Regions from separate parts of the Homo sapiens genome. Here all the other regions are linked to region 2. Evidence: promoter capture Hi-C in 16 types of primary human blood cells and fetal thymus (Javierre and others, 2016). All regions are on one chromosome and are shown on one strand. The core of a region is centred on a gene start or on the middle of the fragment in contact, and the rest is flanking DNA. Distances in the headings are between cores, read along the strand shown. Region 1 overlaps CLEC2D (C-type lectin domain family 2 member D). Region 2 holds the start of CDKN1B (cyclin dependent kinase inhibitor 1B). Region 3 has its middle 13 kb from the start of CLEC2D.

Evidence for each region. Contacts are between HindIII fragments. The CHiCAGO score rates a contact against its expected background, and 5 or more counts as called.
Region 1: a contact is called between a fragment that was not itself captured here and the fragment with the promoter of CDKN1B in region 2, in 1 of 17 cell types (non-activated CD4 T cells). The highest score is 5.3, in non-activated CD4 T cells.
Region 3: a fragment that was not itself captured here is called in contact with the fragment with the promoter of CDKN1B in region 2 in 1 of 17 cell types (non-activated CD4 T cells); the score reaches 9.3 in non-activated CD4 T cells.

Annotation. Positions count from the first base shown.
Region 1 is chr12:9,686,204-9,688,903 of GRCh38, forward strand. CLEC2D (C-type lectin domain family 2 member D) reads left to right here. Exons shown (of 5, transcript NM_013269.6): 3 at 1,699-1,883. Among named protein-coding and RNA genes, the nearest start is that of LINC02390, 16 kb to the right of the region's middle. The HindIII fragment of the contact is 224 bases long and covers 1,226-1,449 here.
Region 2 is chr12:12,715,918-12,718,617 of GRCh38, forward strand. It overlaps CDKN1B (cyclin dependent kinase inhibitor 1B), which reads left to right and starts at 1,451. Exons shown (of 3, transcript NM_004064.5): 1 at 1,451-2,397. The coding sequence starts at 1,923. It also overlaps a transcript of GPR19 not described here. RefSeq lists silencers at 835-1,404, 1,829-2,017 and enhancers at 1,425-1,474, 1,555-1,654. The HindIII fragment of the contact is 7,251 bases long and covers 1-2,700 here.
Region 3 is chr12:9,654,976-9,657,675 of GRCh38, forward strand. It overlaps the pseudogene LOC374443. Among named protein-coding and RNA genes, the nearest start is that of CLEC2D, 13 kb to the right of the region's middle. The HindIII fragment of the contact is 250 bases long and covers 1,171-1,420 here.

The DNA of each region.
Region 1 (2,700 bases), core at 88-2,587, 3.0 Mb before region 2:
ATGATCCTGGTACCTCAGTTGGAAATGCAGAAATCACCTGCCTTCTGCATTGGTCTCACTGGGAACTGCAGACCAGAGCTGTTTCTAATCAGCCATCTTGCCCTCTCTGGTCTGGTCGTTTTCTTTAAATTGGTTGATACAGGAGCAGTGATAGCACAACAAATATGCACAGATTTGGGGAAAGTCATCCTGCATTATGGTCTGGTTCAAGAAATTACATTTTAATAGTTATAATTTGGTATCACCTTGTTTGTGATACCAAACCAGATACAATACACGTTTGCCTCATGTTATGATTTGTTATTCAGATTACACCAGTTATTATTCATAACTAAGAGTGATTTCTCATCTCACAAGAGCCAAATCCAAGGATAATGGTGCCAATTGATAGTAATGATTCTATGAATACCCAGCATTCTGGTCTATCATAGACACTTTCAGAACCATTGAGTTGAAGGTAGAAGGTGGTTATATAATAGAAGATGAACTGGTAGCTACTAGGGGCTCAGTGACAACTATCTGGAGAGACATTCATTCATCTCGATCCCACATGAAGAGAGCATTTCTCCTGATTATATAAGAAGTGGGTCAGAAAAGCCTGTCCAGTGAAGTATTGCTGCCTTCAAAGTGTAGAAAACCTCACTAAATCTCCTTAGTGGAAGGAAGTTCACTGTACAACAACTTATTTCATATTTATGATAGTATTTAGACATATACAAGGCTTTTTCACATCAAGAAACCTTATTCACATAAGGCATCTCTATCCTGCCCTTCATTTTACCAAGTCATCTGGAGCAGCAATCGCCAACCTTGTTGGCATGAGGGACCAGTTTTGTGAAAGACAACGTTTTCATGGACTGGGGTCAAGGAATGGTTTGGGGATAATTTAAGTGCATTACTTTTATTGTGCCCTTTATTTCCATTATTATTACATTGTGTAATAATATATAATAAAATAATTATACAACTCACCATAATGTAGAATCAGTGGGAACCCTGAGCTAGTTTTTCTGAAAGTAGATGGTACCATCTGTGAGTGATGGGAGACAGTGACAGTTCATCAGGTATTAGATTCTCACAAGGAGCCCACAACCTAGATTCCTCACATGAGAAGTTCCCAATAGGGTTTGCCCTCCTATGAGAATCTAATGCCACTGCTGATCTGACAGGAGGTGGAGCTCATGAGGTAATGTGAGTGATGGGGAGTGGCTGTAAATACAGATGAAGCTTCACTTACTCATTCGCTGCTTACCTCCTGCTGTGCAGCCTGCTTCCTGACTCATCCATGGACCAGTACTGATCCATGGCCTAGGGGTTGGGGACCCCTAATCTAGAGCACTTGGAGAACTATCTGTTCTCCAAAGCTGATCAAATGCTATCATTAATGTATCTAATATTTTAAGAAAGGGTAACACTGTTGAGAGCCAAATAGATACATGGCCCAGAGCAAGCTTAAGTTACTAATAACTCCTTTTTCAGCTCACCCCCTGCTGAAGGCATGAGTTTGAATCTCAGTTTTGCCATTTGCTGTGTAATGTATGCAATTATATTTAGCATCATATTTCTCACTTGAAAAATGAAAATAATACATTTAATACTTAACAGGAGTGTCAGAAAGTATATTAGCACTTGGTAATTTATACAATACAATATAAAAGTAAGAAATTTTTATTTTATTTATTTTTATTTTATTTTCAGCAATAAGAGCTAACTGCCATCAAGAGCCATCAGTATGTCTTCAAGCTGCATGCCCAGAAAGCTGGATTGGTTTTCAAAGAAAGTGTTTCTATTTTTCTGATGACACCAAGAACTGGACATCAAGTCAGAGGTTTTGTGACTCACAAGATGCTGATCTTGCTCAGGTTGAAAGCTTCCAGGAACTGGTAAGAAAATAGTTCTGGCCAGAATCAAAGATTCAGCCCTACAAGGATATGTTTTCCTGTGAAATTATCTAAGAGGTAGGTTTAGACATCTGCTTTTACATTGATTTTTTTTTTTTTTTTTTTTTTTTGCATAACGAAAGAGTAACCTAGCATGTATTATATTTTACAGTGAACCATCTAAAATTACCTTAATATTCGTGGCAGGAACAGGCCCAGAGGGCAAGCAAGCCAGAGCCTTCTTTGACTTGTGAGCCAGAATTGTGCAAATAAGGATTAGAAAAGTATTGGTAGAAACCCAGTTTTAAGTTTGTATGAAGTTAGCAACATTGTTTCAAAATAAATCAAACAAGGCCAAGAGCAGTGGCACATGCCTGTAATCCCAGCACTTTGGGAGGCCAAGGCGGGTGTATCACTTGAGGTCAGGAGTTTGAGATCAGCCTGGCCAACATGGTGAAACCCCATCTCAACTAAAAAATACAAAAATTAGCTGGGCATGGTGGCATACGCCTGTAGTTCCAGCTACTCAGGAGGCTGAGGCAGCAGAATTGCTTGAACCTGGGAGGTGGAGGCCTACAGTTAGCTGAAATCATGCTACTGTACTCCAGCCTAACAGAGTGAGACTCTATCTCAAAAAAATAATAAAATAAAAACAATAAGTCAAGCAAGAATGATGTCATAGAGGTTGGTAGACTAAAAAGCTACAGAAATCTGTTCCTCCACTGAGAAAACTATTGAACTGTCAAAAACTGTCTGAAGTAACTATTTTGGAATTCTCGAGTCTAGTTAAACACTGGAAGCATCAAGGGAAGAGTTTGAT
Region 2 (2,700 bases), core at 201-2,700:
AAACAAGCTACACATCAAGCTCATCTGTAGCATAGGTGCTTAAGAAAACTTTGCTGCTGTGTAATATTAGAACGGAAGGTTGGTTTCCAGTAAAATGCATTAACTTTGGCTCAAACCAAGATGATGGGTACCGGGCATGGGGGTGGGGAGGCAGTTGAAGATCCACTGAGCTTTGTCTCAGGGCAGCCCTGCTCATCGTCCTACTTTACCTTCCACCACGGTGCTCAAGCCCACACTGAGAGAGAAATTTCCAGCTGCAAAAGGGAGAAGAGAAACGCTGGAATACTAGTATCGGACGTTAGGACATGGTTGTGGTGTTTTAAAAATCATTTCATCATCTGGAGTTTGACCCCGAGGGGAGTATTTTCACCCTTCAGCCCTCTGAAAGCATTCACTAGCATCTGAATATTGTTCTGAGTTTGTTGGAGCAGTGAAATCTGGTGAGAGAGAAGGGTGGAGGAAGGAAGGAGCTGTTGTATTTGGCGGCTGGACTCAGGTAGAGGAAACTGCTACAATCCCGGGAAAGAACAGAAAAGTAGAAAGGGACGAGTTCCCACACGCAGCCAATGTCCATGGCCTTAACTGTGCTTGGGAAGGAAGATCCTGGGCCAGGGGTGTACCCTCGTTTTTCAAAACTAAACGTGTCTGAGACAGCTACAAAGTTTATTAAGGGACTTGAGAGACTAGAGTTTTTTGTTTTTTTTTTTTAATCTTGAGTTCCTTTCTTATTTTCATTGAGGGAGAGCTTGAGTTCATGATAAGTGCCGCGTCTACTCCTGGCTAATTTCTAAAAGAAAGACGTTCGCTTTGGCTTCTTCCCTAGGCCCCCAGCCTCCCCAGGGATGGCAGAAACTTCTGGGTTAAGGCTGAGCGAACCATTGCCCACTGCCTCCACCAGCCCCCAGCAAAGGCACGCCGGCGGGGGGGCGCCCAGCCCCCCCAGCAAACGCTCCGCGGCCTCCCCCGCAGACCACGAGGTGGGGGCCGCTGGGGAGGGCCGAGCTGGGGGCAGCTCGCCACCCCGGCTCCTAGCGAGCTGCCGGCGACCTTCGCGGTCCTCTGGTCCAGGTCCCGGCTTCCCGGGCGAGGAGCGGGAGGGAGGTCGGGGCTTAGGCGCCGCGGCGAACCCGCCAACGCAGCGCCGGGCCCCGAACCTCAGGCCCCGCCCCAGGTTCCCGGCCGTTTGGCTAGTTTGTTTGTCTTAATTTTAATTTCTCCGAGGCCAGCCAGAGCAGGTTTGTTGGCAGCAGTACCCCTCCAGCAGTCACGCGACCAGCCAATCTCCCGGCGGCGCTCGGGGAGGCGGCGCGCTCGGGAACGAGGGGAGGTGGCGGAACCGCGCCGGGGCCACCTTAAGGCCGCGCTCGCCAGCCTCGGCGGGGCGGCTCCCGCCGCCGCAACCAATGGATCTCCTCCTCTGTTTAAATAGACTCGCCGTGTCAATCATTTTCTTCTTCGTCAGCCTCCCTTCCACCGCCATATTGGGCCACTAAAAAAAGGGGGCTCGTCTTTTCGGGGTGTTTTTCTCCCCCTCCCCTGTCCCCGCTTGCTCACGGCTCTGCGACTCCGACGCCGGCAAGGTTTGGAGAGCGGCTGGGTTCGCGGGACCCGCGGGCTTGCACCCGCCCAGACTCGGACGGGCTTTGCCACCCTCTCCGCTTGCCTGGTCCCCTCTCCTCTCCGCCCTCCCGCTCGCCAGTCCATTTGATCAGCGGAGACTCGGCGGCCGGGCCGGGGCTTCCCCGCAGCCCCTGCGCGCTCCTAGAGCTCGGGCCGTGGCTCGTCGGGGTCTGTGTCTTTTGGCTCCGAGGGCAGTCGCTGGGCTTCCGAGAGGGGTTCGGGCTGCGTAGGGGCGCTTTGTTTTGTTCGGTTTTGTTTTTTTGAGAGTGCGAGAGAGGCGGTCGTGCAGACCCGGGAGAAAGATGTCAAACGTGCGAGTGTCTAACGGGAGCCCTAGCCTGGAGCGGATGGACGCCAGGCAGGCGGAGCACCCCAAGCCCTCGGCCTGCAGGAACCTCTTCGGCCCGGTGGACCACGAAGAGTTAACCCGGGACTTGGAGAAGCACTGCAGAGACATGGAAGAGGCGAGCCAGCGCAAGTGGAATTTCGATTTTCAGAATCACAAACCCCTAGAGGGCAAGTACGAGTGGCAAGAGGTGGAGAAGGGCAGCTTGCCCGAGTTCTACTACAGACCCCCGCGGCCCCCCAAAGGTGCCTGCAAGGTGCCGGCGCAGGAGAGCCAGGATGTCAGCGGGAGCCGCCCGGCGGCGCCTTTAATTGGGGCTCCGGCTAACTCTGAGGACACGCATTTGGTGGACCCAAAGACTGATCCGTCGGACAGCCAGACGGGGTTAGCGGAGCAATGCGCAGGAATAAGGAAGCGACCTGCAACCGACGGTAATGACCCTTTCCCAACCATAGAATGTGTTTGGGGCCCCGCTTTGCCTGCTGGAGGGTGTTAACCTTAGCTTGCTTTTCGGCGTATTCTGATTTAGCTTTGGGAGAGCTAACTTTATTGGTCTTAGGTGTTCAGTGCTACCTGGCCCACTGCTTGTCTGTTTGTGACTTTTAAGTCAGAAACTGGAGATGGTAAGATCCGATAATTTCCCTAACTTAATACATCGCGGTCCCTCTCACTAGCAACTCCTAGGTATGTGACAAAGTTGGGATGTTTATCAACGGTCCGCCTCCTGGCTAGGG
Region 3 (2,700 bases), core at 46-2,545, 3.1 Mb before region 2:
CTTAGGATAAGGCACTTTGTGATGAGTTAGGAAAACAACAATCAGATATGTACACTTCAAAATTGACCTCAGGAAGGTAAGCAGAAAAATAGATAAAATGGGTGAGAAAATTTCTTTATTATGTTTCATTGTGATTGTCTCACTTTTAGCAAGAAAGGAAAAGCCAGTGGTAGAGTCATCTAAATACGCTGCTTGCCCAAAAAGCTGAATTAGATTTAGGAGTAAATGTTTTTATTTTTCTGAAGGCATAAGAAATTAGACATTGAGTCAAACGTTCTGTGTCTCATTAGAAGCCAGCCTTGCTCAGTTTGCAACTATGGAGGAACTGGTAAGAGATATTTTTGGATCATGTTTTCTGTTAAATACTTAGCCCCCTGAGGCAGGTCGGCTACATAGGGTTAAAGCTGAAATACTAAGAAGGATCCCATTCCAGGGGCATGAGATGTGTTTTCATGTCTAACATTTGTTGAGGGTGTGTTCTCTGCCTGGAACCCTGTGAGACATTTTAGATATATTTCCCCATGTAATGCTCATGGTGAGCTGGTAAGATGAGATGTATTGTTCTCATTCTATTAAGAAGTAAGGTAATTATATAATTTGTCATCTAGATTAAGACATATAGGGCATTAAAAGTGATCATTAATACATTGGTGGAATGACAAGCATAAACTGAGAATTTCCCAATGAAACTGGGATTTATGCTCACTTTAAATAAAGTAATTTAGGATCAGAGACGTTAAATGACTTAAACTGAGAACTGGGAATTAGTCTCACTCCAGAATTTATGCTGCTTAATTATACCACGCTGCCAGTGAAAAAGAGAAGGGATAGGGAAGAGAGACTCCAGAGTAATATGAAAGAAAGGGGCTCATGGTGTTAGTTTCTGTTTTATTATAGAATTTCCTGAAAAGATACAAAGGCCCTTCTGACCATTGGATTGGCCTTAGAAGAGAATCATCCCATCGCATTTGGAAATGGACAGACAACATGGAATATAATAACATGTATGTTTTGAGACTTCTCATCTTTTGCTGTGTTTATGTATGGTTATGTGTGTGAGTTGTGTTTATGAGATAAGAAATGTAGTATCATGGAAAACTTACTGCAATATGAGGTAAGAAATCTAAACCCTTTTTATGCTCTTCAGTTGGTTAGCTGTGTCTTTGGGAAAGCTTTACCTGTGATTTCAGTTGAAGTCTTTAATGTGACAGTGACATTTCTCACAATTTTACACTTTCATCCACTGATTTAAAACTGCTGAAATCCCTACTTATAGCTGATGTGCAACAAAGGTTCTACAATCATAGGAAGCCACTGAGGAGCTGATATCCACAAGGCTGTTAAGCCCACTCTTGCAGGTGTTGCATCCATTTACAATAGGAAAGCATCCAGGGAACTCATGGGAATCTCTCCCTCCTAAAGCTTTATCACCAGAAGGAAACTAGTAACAGTTCCTTGGACTGTGAACATTTCAAAGGGGTATTTTGAATATAATCATTACATTGCAGCAGATAAAATGTAGGAACCCAGTCATATCCATTAATCAAAGCTAAGCCCTTTCAGGAATTTACTAGTTTTTTTTTTTTTTTTAGTTTTCACACATTTACAAAACAATTTGGGAGGAGGCTGGAAATCATCTTGACTGAAGACCACCAATGGCAGCAGTTCATTTGGGTACAGCAGCAAGCATCAGTTAAATACCTATCAACATAGCTGGGCTTGGTATGGATGAATGATAAGCTTGTGATTTTCAAGCAAGGACCTTGAGGACATAAAGGACACTAAATACAGAAATGGTTTATATTACTATGAAGCAATATTAATGACAGACTTTTGCTTTTCTCTTATTCACATTGAAATATGGAGGGGTTGCAGAAGATGATGGGGAGGAACAAATGCAGGTGTCTAACTTACAAATATTTAATATTTTTGTGTTTGGATTTAGGCTTGCTATCAGAGGAAGTGGAGAATGTGCCTTCCTGAATGACAATGGAGTCAACAGTGGCAGAATCTACATGAACAGAAAATGGATTTGTAGCAAGCCAAACAATTATGTCTACAGTTGCCAGTTATGTCCCCACTGGGATACTACCTAGTAGAGCTGTGAGAAGAGGGCCACCATCCTCCAGACTCCAGAATGGTGGAATCAGCAGCAGCTTCCACCATGCCCCTGGAAAAACTGCAAGTAACAGACCTGCACATGTATCCCCTACATCTAAAATAAAAGTTGGAAAAAATGGAACTTTGATGTTAAGATGCACTGATACAAAACTTAAATTTTGGTCTCCTACATTAAAACAATATGAGTCTCTTAAAATATTGATTTGTTCTTAGTAAGATTACAAGAGGCTTTGATTTTTAATTCTGCAATGTTTCCTTAACAGCCATTCTGAATTACAAACTAATTCCTATTTCTGCCACATTCCTTCCTGAGAACTGTCTAGTCCTGGTTTGGGATTTATCTTAAAGGTCTAGAAAGGCAACATTTTACTTCAGCAAAACTTGATTCTATATTGTTGTTTTTTCTTAATGTGTCAAAATTGTTTTGTTACTAGGATTTCCTATGTTGTTATTAAATGTATTCCCCTGATCAAGGTCACTGGCCTAGAAAACAAAGATTCTGTGTTTTACCAAGATAATTCCCAGTGCTTCATGGTGTCTTTATTAGGCTTTGACTGCTTAGGGAAACTGAGCCTTAAA